Linked DNA regions of Homo sapiens: regions 2 and 3 are each linked to region 1. Evidence: promoter capture Hi-C in human tissues and cell types (Jung and others, 2019). All regions are on one chromosome and are shown on one strand. Each heading gives the region's core, a stretch centred on a gene start or on the middle of the fragment in contact. The rest is flanking DNA. Distances are from core to core; before and after follow the strand shown. Region 1 overlaps EIF3D (eukaryotic translation initiation factor 3 subunit D). Region 2 holds the start of MICALL1 (MICAL like 1). Region 3 holds the start of PDXP (pyridoxal phosphatase).

Evidence for each region. Contacts are between HindIII fragments. The study calls those that stand out against the background at their distance.
Region 2: the fragment with the promoter of MICALL1 here is called in contact with a fragment that was not itself captured in region 1 in 1 of the 25 tissues and cell types used here (dorsolateral prefrontal cortex).
Region 3: the fragment with the promoter of PDXP here is called in contact with a fragment that was not itself captured in region 1 in 1 of the 25 tissues and cell types used here (dorsolateral prefrontal cortex).

What each region holds. Positions count from the first base shown.
Region 1 is chr22:36,514,006-36,518,648 of GRCh38, reverse strand. EIF3D (eukaryotic translation initiation factor 3 subunit D) reads left to right here. Exons shown (of 15, transcript NM_003753.4): 10 at 1,218-1,348; 11 at 1,859-1,944; 12 at 2,042-2,171. Among named protein-coding and RNA genes, the nearest start is that of FOXRED2, 9.3 kb to the right of the region's middle. The HindIII fragment of the contact is 3,595 bases long and covers 527-4,121 here.
Region 2 is chr22:37,903,816-37,908,458 of GRCh38, reverse strand. MICALL1 (MICAL like 1) reads right to left here and starts at 2,162. Exons shown (of 16, transcript NM_033386.4): 1 at 1,891-2,162. The coding sequence starts at 2,036. RefSeq lists enhancers at 210-1,023, 1,024-1,839, 1,840-2,655, 2,656-3,471 and silencers at 1,610-1,719, 1,830-2,549. The HindIII fragment of the contact is 31,369 bases long and covers 1-4,643 here.
Region 3 is chr22:37,656,222-37,660,864 of GRCh38, reverse strand. It overlaps PDXP (pyridoxal phosphatase), which reads right to left and starts at 2,142. Exons shown (of 2, transcript NM_020315.5): 1 at 1,509-2,142. The coding sequence starts at 2,082. It overlaps PDXP-DT (PDXP divergent transcript), which reads left to right and starts at 2,488. Exons shown (of 6, transcript NR_109952.1): 1 at 2,488-2,610. RefSeq lists enhancers at 1-427, 428-939, 1,766-2,267, 2,456-2,505, 2,516-2,585 and silencers at 1,646-1,755, 1,956-2,265. The HindIII fragment of the contact is 18,911 bases long and covers 1-4,643 here.

The sequences.
Region 1 (4,643 bases), core at 1,075-3,574:
ACAGCAGCAGTGTCTGAATCTCCCACACTCTTTAGAGGTTAGGAGAAGAGACTGTCACTGCAGTACCTGCTTGAGGCCTCAGCTTTTGGAGTCCTCACAGCACCCTAATAGCAAGCTTCCAAATGTTGCTTTTTTGTTGTTTTTTTTTTTTTTTAATTGAGACAGAGAGTCTCACTCTGTCACCCAGGCTGGAGTGCAGTGGCGCAGTCTTGGCTCACTGCAGCGTCTGCCTCCCACATTCAAGTGATTCTTCTGCCTCAGCCTCCCGAATAGCTGGGATTACAGGCATGTGCCATTACGCCTGGCTACTTTCTATATTTTTAGTAGAGACGGTTTCACCATGTTGGCGAGGCTGGTCTCGAACTCCTGGCCTCAAGTGATCCATCAGCCTTGGCCTCCCAAAGTGCTGCGATTAGAGGTGTGAGCCAACACACCTGGCCCAAATGTTATTCATTTAAATACCCCTTTTTCGACTTTTGCCATCTTGCATACCTTGTTCAGTGTTTGCTTACTGTATATACATATATATTTTTTATACCATACATATATGTATTTATACACCATAAAGGAAAACCATGTCACTCAAAAATTAACAAAACAGGCTGGACACGGTGGCTCACAACCTGTAATCCTGCCACTTTGGGAGGCCGAGGCGGAGAATCACTTGACATCAGGAGATCGAGACCAAGCCTGGCCAACATGGTGAAACCCAGTCTCTACTAAAAATACAAAAATTAGCCAGGTGTGGTGGTGGACACATGTAATCCCAGCTACTTAGGAGGCTGAGGCAGGAGAATCGCTTGAACCCAGGAGGCAGAGGTTGCAGTGAGCCGTGGACACACCACTGCACTCCAACCTGGGTGACAGAGCAAGACTCCATCTCAAAAAAAAAAGTGTTTATATTCTGAGCCTGAAGCCTGAGGTCTTTATTAAAAAGCTTGCAAAATCATTCTCTTGAGGAATCCAAAACGACTGAAAAGGGACAGCTTCGTTACTGTGTGATTGAATTGAATGTTGGACAGTATCTTGAGTTATCCTGGAGCAGCTGCCCCACTCCCCCGCTTATGTGTTCCACACCAGGGAGACCCACTTTAGGAGAGGGCAGTTCTTTGAAGGAAGGACTTGTGTTGTTTGCCTCTCCACATCTCCCCACAGCGCTGCGCACATTGTCAGTGACTCTTTGTTGCATGGTGAGTGACCATGCCACGCTTTTGCAGACCTCCTGACAGTGAGTGAGACTGCCAATGAGCCCCCTCAAGATGAAGGTAATTCCTTCAATTCACCCCGCAACCTGGCCATGGAGGCAACCTACATCAACCACAATTTCTCCCAGCAGTGCTTGAGAATGGTGAGGAAACGAGTCTCTGGGCATTGATTCATTCTTATTTAATCAGCTGCTGTTTGTGGAGCATCTGCTTTGTGCTAGGCTCTTGGTTGTGGGACTGAGCAGGTCAGACGCAGTCCCCACCTTTAGCAGGGGAGTTACATGCCTGGGCTTGGATGTTAGGCTCTCTGACTTTGAACAAAGTTCCTGCCCTTACAGAATTTAATGATAGTGGAGGAGGAAACACAGTGAACAATAAATAATAAATTGATTTACATCAAATGGTGAATATATGCCATGGCAAAAAAATGAAGTAGAGATGAGCATGGTTACTAAGTCATTGTTCTAATTCATCAGGTGCTAACAGTTGGGAGGGGTCAAGTAGGCACAAAACAGGCAGCGAGCTCAGAGCCCCATCAAGGGCCCCAGGAACCTGGCCAGGGCTGCAACTAAGCAGAGGTGCTGGGTCTGACTGATTGGCCTTGGCCTTGTCAACAAAGTTAGCTCTGTCTTGTGACACCTTTGTTTTTGCAGGGGAAGGAAAGATACAACTTCCCCAACCCAAACCCGTTTGTGGAGGACGACATGGATAAGAATGAAATCGCCTCTGTTGCGTACCGGTAGGTCACCTCTCTGGTGGGTATTGTGGCCAGACTGGAGCACGGGCCCCACTCTATAGAATCCCCAGTGACCACATGAGTTTCTTTTTTGCTGCAGTTACCGCAGGTGGAAGCTTGGAGATGATATTGACCTTATTGTCCGTTGTGAGCACGATGGCGTCATGACTGGAGCCAACGGGGAAGTGTCCTTCATCAACATCAAGACACTCAATGAGTGGGATTCCAGGGTGAGCCGCCATCTCCATCACCCTCCTGGTGACACCATGTCTCTATTCCCTACAGTGCCTGTTTACGCAGGCTAGGTTGTATAAACTGTTTCTTATCCCCTTTCGTTACTTATAGAGCTACCTGGATGTTTTTTTTTGTCTTGTGAGTTTTTTCCTCTGCTTAGTTCCTTGCTGAGAAAGAGCATGACTGTGTGTGTAGAACTATGTTAAGTGTTAAGAACTTTTCTGCTTATTTTTTACGCAGGAACCAGTTAACTCCCTTCTTCCAGTACTTTCTTCATCTCTGTTCCATTGTGGCCTCCTGTTGACTTCTGCTCCCTGAGCATCTGATTTTTTCCTCTCCTTATTATCTGGGTTGGCAGTTTTCCTGTAAGTCTGGCCGCTCTTCTTTTTGACCTCTTCTTTCATTGACTGAGCCACTGCCTTCAATCTTTTCACACATTTTTTGCAATTCCTCATTTCTTTAACTCATGGATTCTAAGATCTGGCTCAGAATTGACTCTTCAGAGGCACCTTGAAAGAAACATGCTTCCTTCACTTTTCCTCCTCTATTTCCACCCCACCCCTCCCAATCCGCCCCCCCGCCCACATCACCTGTTGAAAGAGCACACTGGAAGGTTTGCCGCTCTGGGGCCAGCGGCCTTTTCTTGGATTTTTCCTGGTGAGCTCCCCAAAGCATTCAGGGCCGTCGTGCCTGTGTCGTTTTGCCGTCTGTGTTACCGCGTTACTCTGGTCTCACCCGTTTCCCTGTTCCGTTTGCATGTCGTCTTTGCTGGCTCCCCTCCTTTTTGATCCCAGTGGAGTCACCTGGACAGCTCTCTTCGCCATACATACTTCTGTATTATATAACTTTGTATTAGTTTTCTTTCGCACCATAACAAATTAACAGAAACTTAATGACTTAATACCGATTTATGTATTTTACTTTTATTTTTTATTTTATTTTTCTGAAACGGAGTTTCGCTCTTGTTGCCCAGGCTGGAGTGCAACGGTGCGATCTCGGCTCACTGCAACCTCTACCTCCCGGGCTCAAGCGATTCTCCTGCCTCAGCCTCCCGAGTAGCTAGGATTATAGGCATGCACCACCACACCCAGCTAATTTTGTATTTTTAGTAGAGATGGGGTTTCTCCATGTTGGTCAGACTGGTCTTGAAGTCCCGGCCTCAGGTGATCTGCCTGCCTCGGCCTCCCAAAGTGCTGGGATTACAGGCGTGAGCCACAGCACCCGGCCTAACAATACCAATTTATTAGCTCACGGTTTTGTAGGTTAGAAGTCCAGTGCTGTGTGCTTGGTCCTTGTATTAGTCCATTGTCACACTGCTGTAAAGAAATGCCTGAGAGTGGGTGATTTATAAAGAAAAGAGGTTTAATTGGCTCACAGTTCTGCAGGCTCTAGAGGAAGCGTGGCTGAGGAGACCTCAGGAAACTTGCAATGGTGGCAGAAAGCAAAGGAGAAGCAGGCACATCATGGCCAGAGCAGGAGAAAGAGAGGGGGGAGGTTGGTATACACTTTTAAACAACCAGATCTCTTGAATACTCTTACCACAAGAATAGTGCCAAAGGGGGAAGTCTGCCCCCATGATCCAGTCACCTCCCACCATGCTCCTCCTCCAACATTGGAGTTTACAATTTGACATGCAGTTTGGGTGGGGCCACAAATCCAAACAAGGCAGAAATCATGGTGTCAATAGAAATAGAACTGAGTTCTCATCTGGAGGTTCTGAAAGAAAAGCCACTTCCAAGCCCATTCTTATTGTGGGTAAAGTTCATTTCCCTGCAGTTAGATGACTGAGGCCCCCATCCCCCTGCCAGTTGTCAGCTGGGAGCCTCTCTTGGCTCCTAGAGGCCACCTGCATTCCTTGTCACATGGCCCCCTCCATCTCCAAGATAGCAACAGCACATCAGATCCTTCTTGTGCTTCAGATCTCTGACTTCCTCCGTCTCCGACCTCTACACCTAGATTTAAGAGACTCATACGGTTGGGTGAGCCCAGCCAGGTAGTGTATATTAAGGTAAACTGATTTGCGGCCTTACATCTGCAAAATCCCTTTTGACATACAAGGTAGGATGATCATGGGGGTGATACTTGATCCTAGCCATAGGTTCTGCCCGTAGTCAAGGGGAGGAGACTCTGCAAGGGCAAGGGTCACTGGGGGTCATCTTAGAATTCTGCCCATCCCAGGCCTCAACCATGAACTCTTTGAAAATGATTTCTCAAATCTACTCTGATTTATTATACTTCCCATTGTTTTTCTGCTAAAACACCTTCCCCTTCCATGTGTCCCCAGTCCCGTCATTGCCTCTGGGCCAGCTGTCCATCAGCATTGTCTTTCTTCCACCTAAGCTCTGAGCCTCCAACATCTCCAACTTCTTTTTTACATTATTCTGTTTTGCTGTTAGCAAAATAGAAGGCTTTGCTGTCTTCTGAATCTGTCCTGGATTTCACTGATAATTGCCCTAGTTCAGGGCCCC
Region 2 (4,643 bases), core at 913-3,412, 1.4 Mb before region 1:
CGTGGTGGCGTGTGCCTGTGGTCCCAGCTACTAGGGAGGTTGAGGTGGGAGGATTGCTTGAGCCCGGGAGGTGGGGGCTGCAGTGAGCCATGACTGTGCCACTGCACTCCAGCCTGGGTGACAGAGTGAGACCCCATCTCAAAAAAATAAAAAACATTAAAAAAAAAAAAAGTAACATTAGTTACTCACAGTAACTAATGTTAAATGAATGCTTGTTATCTCATGCAATCCTCACATTTCTGTGAGCTGTGTCACATTATCAATCCCACCTCACAGATGAGGACACTGATGCCTGGAGAGAGCCCATGAGGACCCAAGGCCATGCGCCTAAGACATGGAGAAGCTAAACACAAACCAGGCGGCCTTTATTTACTTTGATGCCACCAGGCTCAGGCCCACCAAATGGCTTCACTTCACACCCAAGTCCCCTCCCACACTGGGTTTGTCCCTGCTTCCTGCCTCACTCCTGCCCCTCAAACAAAACAGAAGACCCCTTGGGCCCTCCCTTCCAATGCCCAGGTCTAACCCTGGTGCCCTTTTCCTCCATCCTTCTACCCCCTGCTCCTGGGCAACCAGGCATCAACCTTGTGCTTCCATTAGTATGGGTGTCACATGCCCCACAGCGGGCAGGGGCCCACCTACATGACCACCTCATCTTGTTCCCTTCTGTATCCACAGCCCCAAAACCCTCTCCTCCAGGGCCCAAGCCACCACCCACAGACACGGTACTGCAGGGTACATACAGGTAAACCAGGTGCACCTGCATCATGGAATCCTGAGGCAATCCCTTAGAAGCCTTCCCACATGCTGCCCTCGGACAGTGCAAATCTGGAGGTGGAACAGGCACAGAAAGCCTCCATCTGCCAGGCTGGGGGAGCCCTGGCAAGAGGGCTGCATGCGAAAGGGGTAGGGACCAGAACTCTCCTCCCTGATTCACAGGTGAGACCTGAAGTGCAAGGAATGGCACCAGATAAACTCACCCAGTGTTTTAGGAATGAAGGGACGAAAGGAGGAGAGGTTCCAGGGCTCAAGGCAGAGAGAGCAAAGACAGAGGCTCCAAGTCAACTGTTCCGGGGAGTCTGAATGCATTTTCCCATGAGAACCTCATTGGGCAGCTCTGGGCAGGAAGGGGCCATTTCACAACCTGCAGCACCCGGTTGGTGTCTATCAATCGGATCCTAGGAGTCTTCCCAACATTGCCGGCCTGTGACTCCTCTTGCGCGCCCCACCTGCGTGCCCCACTGAGGAGGGCTGCAGGGCCATCGAGCACACACCCGGGAGGCAGGGCTGCGTCCTAAGTTGGGGGGCGTGGGGAAAGCACAGGGTCTGTACATCCATTCATCCAACACCTGTTAGCCGAGGTCTCCTCTGTGCCGGGAACTGTGCTACTGTCCGGAGACAAGCTCCTATTTGGGGGTCAGAGAAGTGGGGGTTCACCTGCACACCCGGAGCAAGGGGCCACCCCGAGTGGGAAGCCTCGGGGGAGAGGGGAGGCCCGGCGAGCCCGTGGAGAAGAGTTTAGGGTAGGAGAGGCCCAGGGCCCCCAAAGAGGGCTCAACACCCCTTCAAAGAGGTCAAGGGCTTAGGGGTTCAGCGATCCTCGGCGGAAATCAGCGCTTTGTGGGCGGGGCCAGTGTCCCCGCGGAGGGACCAGCCTCGGGGGAGAGTTCGGGATCCCACGGGCGGGGTCAGGGCGGCCGGGCGGGGGAGGGGCGCCCTGGGCCGGGGTCTCAGGGACCCGCCCGGCGTCCGGGGCCGTCGGGGGGGTCGGCGTCTCCGTGTCCGGGGGCGGCGCCTGTCACCGCCCGGGCTTCGTGTTACTGAGGGGGGGCGGCGGTCGCGGCCCCAGCCCGCCCCGCGCCGCCCGCTCGCCCGGGGCCCCGCACTCACAGCAGGTCGGGCCGGTGCCGGTGCAGGATGGCGCAGAAGGCCAGGCCGTCCCGGAAGGAGCTGCTCAGGTCGCGGATCTCCACGCCGCGGTAGCCCTCGCACTGGCGGCGGCACCAGGCCAGCAGCGCGCCCCGCGGCCCAGCCATGACCCCGCGGCCCGCCCGGCTCCGGCTCTGGCTTCGGGGCCCCGGCTTGGCCGGGACGGCGGCCGCCGCGCGGGCCCGGTTTCCGGCTGCGGCTGCGGCTCCGAGCTCGGGCGCCGACCGGCAGGCGAGGGGAGGGGCGGAGGCGGGGCCGCGGTGTCCTCGCTCGGGCGCCCCGCGGCCCTGCCCTAACCTGCCCGAGCAGCGCCGCCGCGTGGCCCGGCCCGGCCGGCCGCCGCCTACTCCGCGCTGCCCGCTCGCCTCATTGTGGGCCGGTCGTGGGAGCGGGCGTCCCGCCGCCTCCGTCCGCGCCGGAGGCGCGCCCCACCCAGCAGCAGCTCCGCCTCCAGTGCGGAGCCCACCCCTACCAAGACGGGCCGGCGCCCCATCGCCCGCCCCTCGACGGCGCCGGGCTCCCGCTGCTCCACTGGGTGCCCGCGAAGCCCCCGCACCCGCCGCAAGCGGACCACTCCCCACGATGACTTCACCGCCGCGGCCGCCGCCGCGCCACCCACCGGGAGCCCTCCACCCTTTGGAGGCGGGACACCTCGTGCTCCCATCCGGCCTCCTTCCCGCTCCTAATGACCGCAAATCCCCCCTTCCACCCCTAGCTTGAAACTTTGGGGAGGCAGTTCCCCTGCAGACCTCAGAGCACCCCCCCCCGGATAGCCACCAGCTTCCCTCATCCCGGCTCCCCACCCTAAAGCACCGCTGAGCTGGAAGTTGTCATGTCCACCATCCCCTCCCCCATAGCTTGGCAGGGAGACCCATGCGCCCCTCCGCCACCTTTGGTCCAGGTGTCCCCTAGGTGATTCACTGAGCTCCCCTCAGCCCCTGTGTAAGCTCAGGGATCTCGTCCCTCCCCACTGCGGCCTGCCGGGTCCCCTCAGCCATGGTTAGTGTGGTGGTGGTTTGAGTTCCTATGGGAAGGACCTAGGCCAAGGAGGCCCCTGCCTGGGAGGCATACAGGCAGTTTGTATCTGGCCCTGGAACCTCCCCAAGGCTCATTCTCTATCTTTGCCGTCTTCAAAACCCCCGCCAGCCAACCGACCCTTCCAGCCAGCCAACCCTTCCAGCCAGCCGACCCTTCCGCAGAGGCCCCTCCTGACTCTCCCACAGATGAATCAGCCTCCATCTGCTGCAGAGGTGGTGATGTCACCCTGACCCATGCAATAGTTAGCTGGAGTGGGTATTTCGCTCCCTCCCAAGGGAAGGAACAGGGTCTTAGTCATCTTCATCACCCCTGAGCACTCAGGGGAGTGGAAAGATCAGGCATTTTGGAGCCCTATTAACCCAATCTCCAATCCTGGCTTTCCCCACTCCCTTAGTCATGTGATCTTGTGCCTCCCTGGACCTCAGTTTCCACGACTTAAAAATGGAGATAATACCTGCTTTACAAGGTGGCTGAGAGGATTAAGATGTAAAGTGCCTTACCCTTTAGTTATCACTCATAAATTCTATTGACTCCTGGTACTTGGTAAACATGATGAAATGGACTGAAATATTTTGTACCCAGATTGTCATCTGGGCCATTCTGGGTAAATTATCAAGGAGAGAGGCCGACTTAGGGAATTCTACCTCTTCAAAGTCCACTGAGTCCCAGTCCAGAATACTGGCCCAGGGCCTGGAGAACCCAGCTTGCCAATCTGGGCTGGCCTAACACTCCTGCAACTGGAAGGCCGCCATCTTGGCTCAGTATATGGACTCTCAGGCCACCTAGGAAGAGCATGGCCAGAGTGCCTGGCTAGCCCTCTGGACTTCTCACCAGCCCTGAGCTGCCAACTCCTGCCCTGTCCCCTGTGGGATAACAGTGGCAGGAAAGCAGGATTCCGGATGCTTTTTATGAAATCAGGGACTTGGGTTCAGGATCCTGACACCAGCATCCACCTAGGCCTTCAAAGACCACCCAGGACTCTCATTAAAACCTAAGGGGGGCGGGGTTGGGCACCATGGCTCATACCTGTAATCCCAGCATTTTGGGAGGCCGAGGCAGGTGGATCACCTGAGGTCAAGAGCTTGAGAACAGCCTGGCCAACATAGTGAAACCCCGTCTGTACTAAAAATACAAAAAATTGGGCCAGGCGCGGTGGCTCACTGTAATCCCAGCACTTTGGGAGGCCAAGGTGGGCGGATCATGAGGTCAGGAGTTCAAGACCAGCCTGGCTAAGATGGTGAAAGCCCGTGTCTACTAAAAATAAAAAAATTAGCCAGGCGTGGTGGCACGTGCCTATAGTCCCAGCTACTCGAGAGGCTGAGGCAGGACAATCGCTTGAACCTGGGAGGCGGAGGTTGCAGTGAGCCAAGATCACGCCACTGTACTCCAACCTGGGGGACACAGCGAGACTCCATCTCAAAGATGGTGGGTTTTTTTGGCTCACGCCTGTAATCCCAGCACTTTGGGAGGCCAAGGCAGGCAGATCACGAGGTCAGGAGATCGAGACCAGCCTGGCTAACACGGTGAAACCTCATCTCTACTAAAAATACAAAAAATTAGCTGGGCGTGGTGGCACACACCTGTAATCCCAGCAGGAGAATGGCTTGAACCCGGGAGGTGGAGGACGCAGTGAGCTGAGATCGCACCACTGCACTCCAGCCTGGGCAACAGAGTGA
Region 3 (4,643 bases), core at 893-3,392, 1.1 Mb before region 1:
TTTACATCTCCTGGTGTATTATCACTGCCCTGCATCATGCCTCCTCCAGGAAGTCTTCCTAGGTGCCCCTGGCACTAGGCCCTGCTCACCACCCCACCATAATCCTGTGTCTACTTCTCTCCACTCAATACCATCCTGTACCCCCAGGATTTAATATCAATGACTGTCCGGGTCAGTGGCCAACAGAGACGGAGTGACAGAGATCTGTCCACGGCCCCAGTATACTGACTGGGCTATTAACCTGTCCACACACACTGACCACTGCCAATTAGCCTCTGCTGCCACCTGCTCTTGTCTAACGCAAACCCTCCACAATGGAGGAGCCTCCTTTTGCTTCTGCCTCCCCTGCAGGGCTGAACTCGCAAGATGACAGCAGTGAAGACTGCCCTGGAGGTCGGTGTCACAAAGGCCAAATTCAGGTTCCCGCGCTCTATCACTCTGCCAGAGAGTTGCTGGCAGAATTCTGCCCCACCCATCATTGGGGTGCGGTTGGAGGGTTGGAGGGGAAGCCTGCGAGGACTGTCCCTACTTGTGAGGGCTGAAACACCAATTCCCAGAGGCAGGATGGAGGCAGGTGTGTGGGGACACAGGAGGTGGAGGGGCTCACTATATCTGTTCTTGGGCAGCTCACTTCCCTTCTCTTAGTCTCAGTTTCTTTCCTCTTCTTTTAGAGATAAGGTCTCACTATGTTGCCCATGCTGAAGTACAGTGGCTTTTCACAGATGCAATGATAGCACGCTACAGCCTTGACCTCCTAGGCTCAAGCAATCCTCCCGCCTCAGCCTCTCGAGTAGCTGGGACTACAGGCTGTTGCCACTGCATCCGGCTGCCTCAGTCTCTTTACTTGAGAAATGGGACAATAACTTCCATCTCCAGAGTAATTTGGAAACCAAAGAAGAACACACACAAAGCTGTTTCATTAAGTTCTCTGTAACATGGGGGACTCTGGCTACAACTTACATCATCTGAACACCTACTATGTGCCAGGCACTCACCCTGATCACCGTCACCGGGCATGCTGAGCACTGCCATTTCTCACCCAGGCAGAGATGCTTGGAGGTTATGTAACTGAACACGATTACACAGCTGTGAAGCTGGAGCTGGACCTGGAACTGAGGTCAAACTCCACCGCCTTTGCTCCCCACACACCTGCCTACACCCTGCCTCTGGGAATGGTGTTTCAACCCTCACACAGGGGGACAATCCTCCCAGGCTTCCTCTCCAACCCCACCCCGATGGTGGGTAGGGCAGAATTCCGCCCAACTCCCTAAGTTACAAAGGGCCTCAGTTTCCTCATCTGTCCAACAGGGACCACACTGCTGCGCCTCACAGGATGACGGCTACAGGGATCAACCGCCCCCCACACCAAAGCACCCTGGGCCTCCCTCGCACTCTCCTGTTCCCCACCTGCCACCTGGAGACGCCTCTTCCCCGCCCCTCACCCTTAGGCGTGGAGGCGAATGCGCAGGTCGCCCCCATCTCAGTTTCCCCGCCATTCCCGCGCTCACCAGGGGTCCGGCTGCCGTCGCTCAGCGGGTGCCATGGGTCACGGTCGGTGGCCACGAGTAGGCACTCGGGGTCGCGCAGGTGCGCGCACGCCTCCCTCAGCTTGGCGAAGGAGAAGTGCTCGTCGTAGCCCACAAGCACGGCGCGCACGCGCGGGGCCGCGCCGTCCCCCGCGCTCGGGTCCCCGGCCAGGCGCAGCCCCGCGGCGCGCAGCTCGGCGCGCAGCCCCTCGCCGCCCAGCACGAACACGGCGCCCGGCGCGTCCGGAGGCCCGGGCAGGCGCTGGCGCAGCAGGCGCGCGGCGCACAGCGCGGAGCTGAAGAGCTGCTCGGCGCGCAGCCCCCCGAAGCCGAGGCGCGCGAAGCGCAGGGCCAGCTCGGGCCGCGCGCGCCGGCTGTTGTTGCTCACAAACAGAGCCGCCTTGCCGGCCCGCGCCAGCCGCTCCAGCAGCTCCGGGGCGCCCGGCACGGCGCGCTCGCCGTTCCACAGCACCCCGTCACAGTCGAACAGGACCCCCTGCGCCCGGCCCAGCACGTCGCGCAGGGCCGCTCCGCGCAGCCTCTCGCAGCGCGCCATGCAGCCGGCCGGCCGCCGGCCTCCCGCGCCGCGCTCTCTCCGCGGGCACGGCGCGCTCTCCCTGGCACGTTCCACGCAGCCGCCAATTGGCGCGCTGGAAGGACCGGGGGGCGGGGCGACGGCGTGGCCTGCAGCCAATGGGGGCGAGAGTCTGGGAGAGGAGCGAAGCCGCGAGCTAACGGAACTTGGAGAGAGGGGCGGATTCGTGGCCAACACCGAGGGGAAGGGACCAATGAAGAGCTAGCTTGATCCTTCTCCCCGTCCCTGGTTCTGCTGGACCAGTCGCCGCCGAGTTTCAACGCCGACTACACTCTTACGCGGTGGGAGACTGACGCTCTTCTTAACCAATAAGAATCTACAAACAAAACGCGAAGCGAAAGGCCCCGTGCCCTCCAGCCAATCAGAAGCTTAGGCGAGCTGGTTGCTGGGAGAAAAACAGATGTTAAATGAACTGCCTTTGGGTCGAATCTCATTGCCCCCTGAATCGTGGACGCTCCAGTTCAGAGCGAAGTCCCAAGAAACGTGTGTGTACGATGGGGTACGAGGCACATGGTGTCTTCTTGGGTGCTGGAGCCCTCGGTCTAGACCAGTAGTTCTTCACACTGCGTTAGAGTCCCCTGGGAACTTATTTTCAGATATCATTTACATATAGTAAAATGCATAGATCTTAAATGTACAGTTCAATGTCTTGACAAATGCTTTTGAAATCACCGATGTGTAGCAGGACAGATCCTCATGTAAGTGTTTTGGGTGAAGACTGGGCATTTTTTGGTTTGTTGGTTAGTTGGTTTAATTCCAGGGATTCTACCGTGAGCTAGGATAGGGTAGGGAAGCACTGGGCTAGAGGCTGGTAGGCTGTCACTGCAGCACGCCCCGGGAGGGCAGGATCCAGAATGGTCGTGGCCAATTGCCCAGAATAGTAATGGGGTGACCCAGGTTGGCTGGGTCCCTGTCTTAGGGAGGAGGCCTTGTGATCTGGAAGCAACCACAGGTCTTGGGACCTTTGAGGAGCCACTGGTCTGCAGTGTGGGGATGAATGAATTGTGAGCTGTGGTGTCACAGTTTTGAAGTTGTCTGCCAACTTCAGATAAGGCTGTGACCCCCAGGAGCAACTGGAGCTCCAACGACTTGGGAAAAACTGTACCTTGTACCCAACCTTGGAAGCTCAACTAGCTCCTATTCCCCAAGTGCCCTAAGCCTTTTGCTCCTGGCCTTTGCATAGATAGTCTCCTTGGCCTGAATGTTCCTTTTTCCTTTAAAAATTTCACCTTCAGGGCCGGGCTCGGTGGCTCACGCCTGTAATCCCAGCACTTTGGGAGGCTGAGGTGGGCGGATCACGAGGTCAGGAGATCGAGACCATCCTGGCTACGGTGAAACCCCGTCTCTACTAAAAATACAAAAAAAAAAAAAAAAAAAAAGAAAAAAATTAGCTAGGCGTGGTGGCGGGTGCCTGTAGTCCCAGCTACTCGGGAGGCTGAGGCAGGAGAATTGCTTGAACCCAGGAGGCGGAGCTTGCAGCGACCTGAGATCGTGCCAATGCACTCCAGCCTGGGCAACAGAGCGAGACTCCATCTCAAAAAAAAATAAACAAAAAATAAAAAATAAATAAAATAAATAAAAATAAACAAAATTCACCTTCAGGTCAGCTCCTGAAAGACTTCCCTTAAATATCACCTTCTCCAGGAAGCCGTTCTTAACCACCCACCCCATACCATGAGTCTAGGTTATATGGCCACCCCTAACTTGGCTAATATGGGCTCCCAGTGCAATGACACTTGATTTTTTTTGTTTTTGAGACAGGGTCTTACACCGTCACCCAGGCTGGAGTGCAGTGGCATGATCACTGCTCACTGAAGCCTCCAACTCCTGGGCTCAAGCGATCCTCCTGCCTCAGCCTTCCTAGTTGCTGAGACTACAGGCACACGCCACTACACCCAGTTAATTAAAATTTTTTTTTTTGTAGAGACAGGGTCTCACTATGTTGTCCAGGCTGGTCTAGAACTCCTGGGCTCAAGTGATCCTCCTGCCTCAGGCTCCCAGTGCTGGGATTATAGGCATGAGACACCGTGCCTGGCCAGACACTTGATTCTAATGGTTGCTTCTGCCTGTCTGTTTGGGAACTCTTTGGGTGTAGGGTTAAGTCTTGGAGCTAGCTCAGGGCCTGGCACAGAGCAGATTTAGGGAAGGTTTGAGGACAGATCCATCCCTGCTCCTTGGGGAGGCTTCCCAGCCTCCTCCCGGAAGGAGAGTGAGGGGTCCAGGAAACAGTGGGAGCGGTAGGGGCTTCTGTGGGCCAAGGGTGGTGCTTTGGTTTTCAATGGAGAGCAATACCTCTGTGGAGGGAATTGTTATAAAGTTTCACAAATGAGGAAAAGGGATACCAAGAAGTTAAGTAAATTGCCCAGAATGTGAGGGACAAGCCAGGCTTTGGAGTCAGACCTAGGCTCTAATCCCAGGCCCCTGCCTGACTGCCGTGTGACCTTGGCAGGTCACTTCTGTCTGGGCCTCAGTCTCCTCACTGCTAAGAGGTAATGGTATTTCCTGCAGTAGGAGAAGATTAA